Linked DNA regions of Homo sapiens: regions 2, 3 and 4 are each linked to region 1. The links are contacts of gene promoters, found by promoter capture Hi-C in blood cells and fetal thymus (Javierre and others, 2016). All regions are on one chromosome and are shown on one strand. Each heading gives the region's core, a stretch centred on a gene start or on the middle of the fragment in contact. The rest is flanking DNA. Distances are from core to core; before and after follow the strand shown. Region 1 holds the start of TNFSF10 (TNF superfamily member 10). Region 2 overlaps TNIK (TRAF2 and NCK interacting kinase). Region 3 has its middle 38 kb from the start of TNIK. Region 4 overlaps TNIK (TRAF2 and NCK interacting kinase).

Evidence for each region. The method cuts DNA at HindIII sites, captures the fragments that hold promoters and counts their contacts. A CHiCAGO score of 5 or more calls a contact.
Region 2: a contact is called between a fragment that was not itself captured here and the fragment with the promoter of TNFSF10 in region 1, in 2 of 17 cell types (activated CD4 T cells and non-activated CD4 T cells). The highest score is 5.8, in activated CD4 T cells.
Region 3: a contact is called between a fragment that was not itself captured here and the fragment with the promoter of TNFSF10 in region 1, in 1 of 17 cell types (activated CD4 T cells). The highest score is 5.6, in activated CD4 T cells.
Region 4: a contact is called between a fragment that was not itself captured here and the fragment with the promoter of TNFSF10 in region 1, in 2 of 17 cell types (non-activated CD4 T cells and activated CD4 T cells). The highest score is 7.8, in non-activated CD4 T cells.

Annotation. Positions count from the first base shown.
Region 1 is chr3:172,522,126-172,524,825 of GRCh38, forward strand. It overlaps TNFSF10 (TNF superfamily member 10), which reads right to left and starts at 1,305. Exons shown (of 5, transcript NM_003810.4): 1 at 1,128-1,305. The coding sequence starts at 1,259. It also overlaps the pseudogene TBPL1P1. RefSeq lists an enhancer at 1,237-1,286. The HindIII fragment of the contact is 8,260 bases long and covers 810-2,700 here.
Region 2 is chr3:171,269,287-171,271,986 of GRCh38, forward strand. All of the region lies in intron 2 of TNIK (TRAF2 and NCK interacting kinase), which reads right to left. Among named protein-coding and RNA genes, the nearest start is that of MIR569, 160 kb to the left of the region's middle. The HindIII fragment of the contact is 1,173 bases long and covers 668-1,840 here.
Region 3 is chr3:171,496,597-171,499,465 of GRCh38, forward strand. No RefSeq gene overlaps it. Among named protein-coding and RNA genes, the nearest start is that of TNIK, 38 kb to the left of the region's middle. The HindIII fragment of the contact is 2,630 bases long and covers 144-2,773 here.
Region 4 is chr3:171,250,351-171,253,150 of GRCh38, forward strand. The region is part of intron 2 of TNIK (TRAF2 and NCK interacting kinase); the gene reads right to left. Among named protein-coding and RNA genes, the nearest start is that of MIR569, 140 kb to the left of the region's middle. RefSeq lists an enhancer at 749-828. The HindIII fragment of the contact is 3,293 bases long and covers 1-2,800 here.

The sequences.
Region 1 (2,700 bases), core at 55-2,554:
TGCAGCAAACCACCATGGCACATGTATACCTATGTAACAAACCTGCACGTTCTGTACACGTATCCCAGAACTTAAAGTAAAATAAAAAAATTTAAAAATAAAGAAATCTGTTTGCCAGAATTCACAAAGAGCAATAGACCTCATGTGAGTTATGAATCTGAACTTCATCCTGCTGTGTGCTATTGGATAAAGACTCTAAGAGCTACATTACAGATTTTTTCGACAGGAAGTATCACAGTAACAAGGCCCTATTTAAAGGCTGTTGCTACTGCTGTGGAACAGATTTACCCATTTGTGTTTGAAAGCAGGAAAGAAATTTTATCATTCACCACTTAATTGGTTAGAATCTCTTACTGTGCACCTTTTAAAACCTGCTGCACATTGGACTCAAAAGGAAAACTGAACCAACGGTAATTGAGGAAATAGACTCTTTTATTTATTCATGGCTACAGTGTAAGCTCCAGTCCCTTTGGATTTTATTCCAAACCTTGTTATAATATAAAAAAGGAAGTTTACAAGACATGTCATTGCTGCTTTTACAAAAGGACATTCTATTTATTTTCGCAGGAATTCTCATGTCCCCATAAGCAGAGCTGTCACAGTGTGCACTACCTTAGGTTGTTTTATTGTTGTCATTGTTATTTTTTTCCATTTTGAGCTAATGTGTTTTATCTGTGAATAGTCTTTTACATTTTTGTATGCTGAAAATGGGCACCAAAGAACCTGTAAAAATTATCTTTTTCAATTGAATGTGCACAAATAAAAGTTTGGAAAAGGAAAACAAAAGAACTACAAAGCATTTAGCAGAAAGCTTTCATGAAGAGTTGCAATGGCTGATATTATAAAATACACATACTTTTAAAAACAAAAAATCCCTCAGGAGTTTTGTTGCCCACATCTGCTAGTAACTAGTGAAGCCAGTTGTGTAACTGCACTTAGTTTACACAATTTCTTGAACTTACAGTTTTGCAAAGACCTCAGTTGTTATGTGATTTAGCAGTTAGAGTGTACCCACAGAGAAAGGAAGCAGGAAAGTCTTCAGAGAGGGGCAAGCTGACATGCAAAGAAGCAGGTAACCAGACATTTGCTAAGCGCCTCGAAGACTGAGTGCACTGCACTGCACTGACCTGCTTCAGCTCGTTGGTAAAGTACACGTAAGTTACAGCCACACAGAGAGACTGCAGGAGCACTGTGAAGATCACGATCAGCACGCAGGTCTGTCCCAGGCTGGGTCCCCCCTGGACCTCCATCATAGCCATGATCCTGTCAGAGTCTGACTGCTGTAAGTCAGCCAGGCAGCCGGTCACTGAAGCCCTTCCTTCTCTATTCTTTTATAGTCAGTGAGGAAATGAAAGCGAATGAGTTGTTTTTCTGGGTTCTGTGGCCTTGGCCCCACCCACATCTATTGAACCTGCAACTGTCCCTCCCCTTTCCTACTGCCCAGGGACAGCTCTTGTCTCAAAGTAGTCGTTGGAAAGGAGGGAAACTGAAAGAAGCTCCTCTCCTTGCCCTCAGGATCCATGCACCCCTTATCTGCACTCACCTCAAGCCCATTTCTCTCTTCTCTTTCTTGCTCTCCTTTTGATAATGTCCTCAGCCAAAGAGGGGAGGGATTTTCTTTGCTTTTCCCTAACATATCCTCATTCTACCACAGAGCTCTAAGCCTCATGGCCTGGCTGTCATAGGCACAAGGCCTGTTTTCTAAATTATAAGATAATTTTTATGACCTGAAACTTCCATATGTGGTTTTTCTCATGCTACTGTGAGGGTGGGAAGAGGGCAGGGTGGGAGTGGATAAAGGAAAATAGAAATACTGTCTCATAGCAATGGTCTTGCTACATAATTCCATCTTGAATGTCAGAATCTAAATATTGACGACTTCTTCCTCTTTGCAAACCTTCAGACACAAATTCTAATCTCCTTCTCAGATCTCCATCCCTACCAAGACAACATGCCTGTGTGTTAGGCTGGACAGGTAGGAAGTAGTTGACACACTCAGAAAGGCAAAGGAAAAAAACATGTGGATGTTTTCCAAAATATTAACCCCATCACAATGTCTCGCTGTCACTATCCTTTTACAGATTAGGAAAAGAAGTTACAGGGAGTTAATTACCCTCAGATTCAGGACCCAGCCCCAAATCTCCCCACTATCAGATGTCATAAGCTGGCCCAGCTGTATGTTGTCTCTATATCTTATTCAGCATTTCTTTCTTTCCTTTTCTTCCTTTCTTTCTTTCTTTCTTTTCTTTTCTATTCTTTCCTTCTTTCCTTCTTTCTTTCTTTCTTTCTTTCTTTCTTTCTTTCTTTCTTTCTTTCTTTCTTTCTCTCTTTCATGTATTTATTTATTTTTTTGACAGAATCTCACTTTATCGCCCAGGCTGGAGTGCAGTGGTGCAATGGCACAATCTCGGCCCACTACAACCTCCACCTCCCAGATTCAAGCAATTCTCCTGCCTCAGCCTCCCAAGTAGCTGGGATTACAGGTGCATGCCACCATGCCCAGCTAATTTTTTTGTATTTTTAGTAGAGATGGGGTTTTACCATGTAGGCCAGGCTGGTCTCGAACTCCTGACCTCAAGTGATCCTCTTGCTTCAACCTCCCAACGTGCTGGGATTACAGGCATGAACCACTGCATGGGGCCATTGTTTAGTTATTCCATTCTTGACCCACTGAGTCAGAGTTTCTGGCAGTGGACTTAG
Region 2 (2,700 bases), core at 4-2,503, 1.3 Mb before region 1:
TACATTATACCATCCAGACACACAGTTGAAACATTTCCCCGAGTATTCTTTAAACACAATGTGCAAGATTGCAATGGCATCATGACTGACAAAAATGACAAAGACGCTGTTAATCAAGTAAATACAAAGCAGCAGCATGAATTATTTATGCCAATAATATTTGTAACCATACAAATTATATATTGATGTTATACTGGAGTGTTTAGTATTTCAGCCAACATACATCACACAATGTTCCCCCAACCTCGATGTTTCATTTCCTTGGATAGCTTTAATTCAGTGGTGGCACTCAAAACAGAACCACAGACACAATATCAGCTTTTTGTTGCTGTTGTCTCAAAATATGATTTCTTTCTTATTATGAAATAGTTATCCCAAAAAGCACAGCTGGGGCTGGTGTTACTTCAGAGCTTCCTACATGAAAGACCACTGAAACAGCCTATGCTGGAGAGATTATAGTTTCACTTTGCTTCATGTTTAGAGGGAAGGTGATATGTGACAATCACTGCTGAAATGGTCTTTACTGACTCTTGCATCAAGGTCAGAATAAAAACATTTTAGGGGAGGGACTACTAAGGCAATTCTTCTAAGGCAAGAACCTCAAATATTTTCCTTCATTAACCTAAAATAAGTTTCAGAGAAGTTTAAGTACACTGAATAACTAGGAAGCTTTTTACTTCTTCATCTATGAGATCAGTCATACTTACCTATGATTCCTCCATCTCAATAGAAAATAAACTCACACACCCACACACATATTCACACATGCATATACACCCACATTTACACACTTACTTTGAGCAGTTCAATTTCTGCTTGGAAACTGTGAAGATAATTATTTATCCTTAGTTAACCCCATCTTTCTAAGTTTAGAAGGAGCTACTCAGATACTGCCACAGTTGGGTAGGTCACTCACTAAATTTTAAGTTCCTTAAGGGCTGGGGGCAACTGGGTCATGAGAATACCCCCGTAGTATCAATATTTACAATACTGTTTGGTTACTAAGTTGGAGTGGATTCTTAATGAGCAATTGGACCACTTAGGAAAAGGCTAGAAGACAGTACTACATCTTCCTCACTGACAGCTACTTCCCTGTTCATACAGAGATGGAATGTATGTGGAGCACCACTATAGAGCGACTGTTAACATGGAGAGGAAAGAGGCCAGAGAGAAAATGCCTGGTGACTTCTCCAAAAATACCCACATCGTTAGTGAGGCATTCCCACCTAAATATCACACCAGCAATTGAAATCAGACCCAAAGTAAAATTCGTCTCTAATCGCCAACTATCTTTCTCAAATTCTCCTTATGCCTTTACATGTGTTAATTTCATTTCCTGAAATACCCATCCCCATCTTTTCTCACTCCTCTCTCACCCCTGCCTACTGCCCCAGCTGTTTCCTGACAGGTATAGTTGTTAGCCACAAAAAATAGGGGTTGAATCCTACCTCTATACCACTGTCTAGTTGGATGATTTTGGGAAAGTTACTTCACACTCAGTGCCTCAGTTTTTTAATCTACATAATGGGGATAATAAAGGTTCCTGCTTCATAGAGGTTAAATGAGTTAACAGATGTAAAGTGATTACAACAGAGTCTGGCACATAACAAGTGGATTTTAAATGATAGTCATTATTGTTCCTGTTATTTCATTTCACAATGGTACTTTGCAAGTGCATTTAATACAACACTCATTTGTTTACCTTTCTGGCTCTACTGCTAAGCTGAATTCAGGGATATTTCTCACTCACTCTGCATCCTCTGAGTACACTGCCTGATACATGGTAGAGACTCACTACATCTGAGAGGGAGAGATTGGGTTCTGGCTTACCCTAAGGACAAGCTTATTCTTACTGTGCCAGGGTTTGAAACCTCAGTCTTCAAGTTCTGCAACAATTCTTTTCTAATTGCGCACGTTTCCTACCTGTGTTGCCAACTCTAATAGTTCTAGCATTTACTTGCACTTCTGCATTATTCTTAGAATTTTCTAAGAGCCAGATACTTTTTAAAAAGAAAATAGTAATTATTGGCTTCACTCCAAGATCATAAACATCAAGTTCAAGCTCCCCTGCCTGGTACCGAGACTCATTTACAAGAAGATCCAGACAACTTTCAAACATCATTTCCATGACCTATCCAATACACACCCTCTAACTCACCTTGTGTGTCCTGTCTCCAAGCCTATGCTAAAGATGGGCCTTCACCCTGGAAACACTTATGTCCATCTGTTCAAATCTTACTTGTTCTTCAAGATTAAAACCAAATGCCATTTCCTCCATAAAAACACTTCTCAAAATTAATCTCTACCTCTCATGTGTTCCCAGAGCACTTTTTATGGGAAAGCTATTTTATTAAAATATTTATGACTGTTTTGACTTTTGTTATTTATATGTATTAAGTTCTTAAAGGAAAGGGACCATGTCTTAATCATGTCTAAATCCAGAAATGTGCCTAGAACAGTGTGCTACAACCTATTATATATAACTTTCAAACCCGAATTTAAAAGAAAAAATTAATTGACATGTAAGATGCTAGGACTCACATCTGTTTACAAAAAAAATTAGATTTAAATAACTAAGTTCCAATTATGTTTAATTCTCAGAATTACCTTTGAGCATTAGATTCTTGCCTGAACCCCTTAAAGAATTAAAGTCTGCTTTATGTGCTTTCCTTGACACAACAGGCACCCAAAACATTTGTT
Region 3 (2,869 bases), core at 209-2,708, 1.0 Mb before region 1:
TGCTGGTGCTGGGGGTGGTGAAGGGAAGGGAAGAAAGTAGATATCTGGAAAGACCTGACCCTAGGGAGACAGGCAACAAGCAACATGGCAGAGAGGAATTAATGGTCATATTCTTAGGATATAGCAGTAAGGAAGGCACCAGAAGCTTGCTCCAAGCAGTACTAGCAAGTTCTGCTTATCTTGTTTTATGTCAGATAATCTAGTATTCCTTCCATTTGTAGAAATAATCATGGGGTGGCTAAAGTGTCATTCAAATTATGCCCATGAAGAGGCTAGATGCAACCAGCCTCCAAGAGCAGTCTCATTTAAATCTAGATAAAACCTATCAGATATTCCACATATTGTAATTCCCATTTGAATTCCTCGCTCAGCACCAATTTTCTCAGTTGGCCTTTCTTGCCCTTTCTTTTTATTGTTTATCTACCTTTGAAAATAACAAAGAAATGGAGTGGGAAATGGAAAATTACTCTGTTGGAAAAACTCACCTTCTTAAATGTGAGTTTTCAATGCGTTTAGAAATATAGTATAGAATTTCTGAGTGCACCCAGATATCTCCTCAAGCTAGTGTAACTGACAGAGCTCCCGGTTGGAGAGAAAAACACATTAACAGTAATACTTAATATTTACTGAGTACTTACACACCAGACAATTCTGCTAAAAGGTTAGATGCAATATCTTACTTAATGTTCAGAATAATCCTTGAGTAATTCCATCTTCTCTGTGTTACAGAAGAGCAAACTGAGGCTTAGAGAGGTAAAGGAATGTGCCCAAGGTCATGCAGGTCACTAAGGGTGGACACTGGATCAGTACTTCGGTCTGTCCACTAGAATTTGAGAACTTTGTTTTTGATAGTTGCTGTATCATTTACCATTCAAGTAATGCCTGGCATTGGGAGGCACTCAATAAATATTTGTTGAATGAGTGAATAAGTGAATGACTATCTGGCTCCAGAAGAAAATCTCTAGCAGGTGGGTAGAATCACATGCCTAATGGATAAAGCCCCTACACCATGGATTATGGGCTTGAGCCGGGAGGTGTCCACTTTCAGAAATGAATGGTGGCATAGAAATAGTATCCCATGACCCAGAAAAGCTAGGTTCTTATCTTGGCTCTTTAGCTGTATGACCTTGGGCCCATCATCCTCATGCCTTTCTGAGCTTCAGATGTCATTTCTGCAAGATGAGAGCCCTCAGAGTACCTCTGCATTCTCTTCCAACTCCAACAGCCTGTCAGTCACAAGAATTTTACACTTCAGAAATTGATCTTCTGGATAAACCACTCCAAGGACAAACCCCAAATGGTTTCCAGCTGTCAGAAGAGATTCATTCCCACCCCAAATACGGTACCACCTTCTCTGTCTCTCCAGATTCCCTACTGGGATGCTGCATTTAGTGTTTATTTCTTTTACTTTCTTTTCTTCCCCACTTTTCAACTTTTAATTTTGAAATAATTTTTTACTTACACAGAAAGTAAGAAAAAATTTCTGATTACCCTTCTTATAGTTTCCCCAAATGTTAACATTTTTCATGCCACAGTGAAATGATCAAAATCAGGAAGTTAACATTGATAAAATACTATTTTCTGACCTACAGTCCTCAAGTTCACCAATAGTCTCACTAATCTACTTTTTTTTCTGCTCCAAGATCCAGCCCAAATTTACGTGTTGCATTTAGTTTGTCTTGTTTTGTTTGTCTTCCTTGATTTGCAACAGATTCTCAGTCTGTCTTTGTCTTTCATGCCCTTGATGCATTTGGAGTATTGCCAAGGTATTTTTTAGAACGTCCCTCAATTCGGGTTGGTCTGGTGGTGATTGAGTTCAGTTTATACACTTTTACTAAAAATATCACAGAAGTGATTTGATTCCTTATTTTGCCTCTTATCAGGCACTGTGTGGTGTCAATTTGTCATATTACTCATGATGCTTTTTGTTGCTCTCAGTTTTATCATATTCTAGATGTTTTATCTAAAAGTAGAGTCATAATAATAATACCTGCCTCACAAAGTTGTTGTGAAGATTGAGTAGAAAAAAGGCCATATAAAGCACAATTCCTGGGATAGCAGGGCTTATCATTTTCATCTTTTTTTAAGTATATCAAATAATTAGGAAATTATTTGAGTAAAAATGGGAGTTTCTGACTGAGCTGGAGTTGGGGCATTTGCAAATCCACATTTTGCCTTTGCATTCACTGCTGCAGCTGTGCCCCCTGAAGTCAGGAGAATTCCAGCAGGCCCGGAAGGATCACAACTCTCAATGTTTCTCTGTAAGGGCAGCAAAAGTAACTAAAGTGTCATTTGAATGTTTGGCTATTGTAAGCTCAGTGGCAGGGGACATGTCTATTCAACCCTGGATCTGGCCTACAAGATGTCAGGTAACCTTTTCAAGGGCATGAGATGTTAATAGTTTTTGAAGTCAAGTTACTAGATATTATGTTTTTGCCTGGGTAAAACATACGATGAATGTATAAATCTGGGTTTTACAGGTGACATCTACATAGAGTGTTTATTTAACTAACTGCAGTTAGTTTATTTAACTAACTGATTGACATGTAGGTATTCTGTAATATTTTTCTATTAGTCTGTGAATAGGCAGTCCAATGAATTATTTATTGGGCTAACACATCCTGGTGCTTTTTTTTTTTTTTTTTTTGAACATTCTCTATTGGAAGTCATGGTTTTGCTTACTCAATTAACCTTCTCCTGCCCACATCTTCTCTCTTGAGGAGTAAACTACCAAAATACAAAGCAGCATTTTGGTGTACAGAGGAAGGGATCAAGCTTGCTCAAGATCTTATTCTCCTCCAGTTGTAATCTCTCCAAAATCACATGTAGAACCTTATTTTCTAATTGATTATAGGGCATGAGATGCACA
Region 4 (2,800 bases), core at 261-2,760, 1.3 Mb before region 1:
AATAGCTCCAGTACCTTAAAAATTCCAAGATGTAACCTAAGCCCTAGTCCCCCAAAATATTCAGAAACAGGGATTCCTAGAAATCTAAATCATGCCCTTTAAAAATTTCGTGTCCAAACCTGATAGACTTAAAAAATTAGAAATGAAGAATATTAGAGACATTCATGTCCACTGATATTAACCCCTTCCATCCTACTTCTCTAAAGCCATGCAGCTAGCTCAGAGAAAAGTAGGAACTCCAACTCCTTCAGCTGTGGGAGGTGGGAACAACACAGGCCCTGTGGTCAGATACCTTCAGTTCTGTCACTCACTGGCTGTGTGACCATGAGGAAATCATTCAGATCTCTTTAGATCTCAGTTTCCACACTAAAATCAGAGAAATGATACTTAAGGCCGTTATAAGAACTAAAATAGCTAATGTGAAAGTTTTGTAAACCATATAGTGCTCTAAAAATGCTACAAACTTCCATTATTATTCTACATTTGGGATTTCTGACTTTCATGACAGAGATTTGTTTTTATCTTGCAATCCTCTGCTGCAACAATTATCAATTGATGGTGTCCCAGACCACTGTCAAAATACAGTGTACATTATTCAAAGACCCCAAATACCAAATGGTCACAAGCCTAGTGTGTTATTATGTCTGAAAGTGTTTGAGTGACCAAAGAATGACTGAAGCTCTCATCTAAACAGCAGAAGGAAAACCAGAATAACCCAACAAAAGGTATCATGTACACACATCAACTACCAGACAGGTTAAAGGTGGGCAACATCCTATGAGAGATGAGACTAAATTAAAGCACATGTTGGAACCTGCCTGTGGTCTGGGAAGAACAGCAGATACAGACAGCAGAGAACAGCAGGAACAGACAACAGAGACCGGGACACAGATATGAGAACTTCCTAAAGAAGGAAGAAGGGATGAGTCCATTAAAAGATGACAATTTAGAATGTCAAGAGTCCTCTGGTGTGTTCTAAAATGAGGCTGGCTACTTGTGTTGTTAGAGGCCTGAGATGATGTCTACATGTTTGGGTAATGATCTTGGATGATATGAACTGATAGCTAGGCCCAGAAGTAAGAAACAGGTACTGCCATAATAGTTATCAACCTTCCTGCCACAGTCTTGGGATGAGTTCCTCTGTCCTGGGCAAGTTGGCTGGGGCTGAAGCACAGAGCAAGGGCCATTGCAAGGTGCTCCTTATTAGGACATTTTTCATCTAACTTAGACCCACAGACTATGTGCACTTAGTTGGGGCCTAATTATCAAGAACCTGTATTCCACACATACACTATTTGATACTTAATATAAATAATGTACCCAATTTTATTTAGCAAAACTAGCAAAACTTGTACTCAAAATGAATGTTGTCTCTAGGCACTAATACCATTGATGTTTAAATCATTCTGAAATTACCTACATCACATCCCTTTGAATATAGAAAAATAATATGGCTCATCTTTGTTAAAAAGTATATTTAATTTTTTACATTTAATATCATTCTAAACGGGTAAGGAAGGTGAAAGATTGAGTTGGATAAAACTGTTAGAAAGTAAATATGATAACAGACCAAAAAGAAATTTTGTGGTTTGTGTATTTCATCACCAAAAGAAAGTAGCTCCCAAATTTATAGGGCAATTGCAACATTTTTGAAGGAAATACGTGCAATTCTCTAAGGTAAATGTTCATTTGCATAGATAAAATCTGGTATGCGTGTGTGTGTGTGTGTGCGTGTGTGTGTGTCATATCTCTTTACTTAACAGCCAAAACAATCTCCTATGTTACCTTCAGCCATTGTTTCCCCTCCCCTATAAATACATCTTCATTGCAAGCAGTTTGTGGGTGAGAAAATGCCTCCATTTTACCTATGTTCACCAGTTAGTTACAACCTGTTGGGCATACAGTAGGTGCTAAATAAATGACTGACTTTTAAGCCTCAAAACTTAACTATAGATAAGTGTTCCGAACACAAGAAGTAGAAAACTCAAGCTATATGGGCAGCCGATGAAAATTAACTGTGCACTTATATAGGCAGATGTAATTAAAAATGAGGGGAGGAGAAGAGAGGAATAAACAAAACCACCCCAAAAACTCATATCGTGTGCACGACATTATATCTGAAAGTGTCATAAATTTCCATTTTATAGCATTAGGAAGCTGCCTTATGTTAATTCAAGGTGGGTAACATGCATATTAAAATATAGCTGTGCTATCTCTGCATTGTTCTCCCAGCTTAGAAGGTAAAATACTGAAGCAAACATGTGGCCTACCAGTGGGAATTAAATTAGAGCGATATTTTACATCATTGCATAGCATTGGTTCTTTGACATTCACAATGTTAACTTTGATATAAGAAATCAGCTAGGTTAGTTTTATCTGTTTATCTGGGAGAAACTTAATCTGGGTTTTGTAAGAAAATCATGGGGTAGTGGAATGGGGAGAGCACTCGGTTCCTGGTGACACCATCTAAATCTTGAAGAACATAAAAATAAACAGCTAGGATTTCACCATGTAAGACAGGAAAAATGGGCACTTCAGAAAATTTAAATGGAGTAGGGGTGTAGAGAAGCATTTCATGTTTTAGAATGCATAGTTTTTTGGGGCCGAAGGAAACCACTCTTAGTCAACTTTAAGAAATAACTAGGGCCGGGCACAGTGGCTCGTGCCTGTAATTCCAGCCCTTTGGGAGGCCGAGGCGAGTGGATCACGAGGTCAGGAGTTCGAGACCATCCTGGCCAACACGGTGAAACCTCGTCTTTACTAAAGGTACCAAAAAAAAAAAAATTAGCCGGGCGTGGTG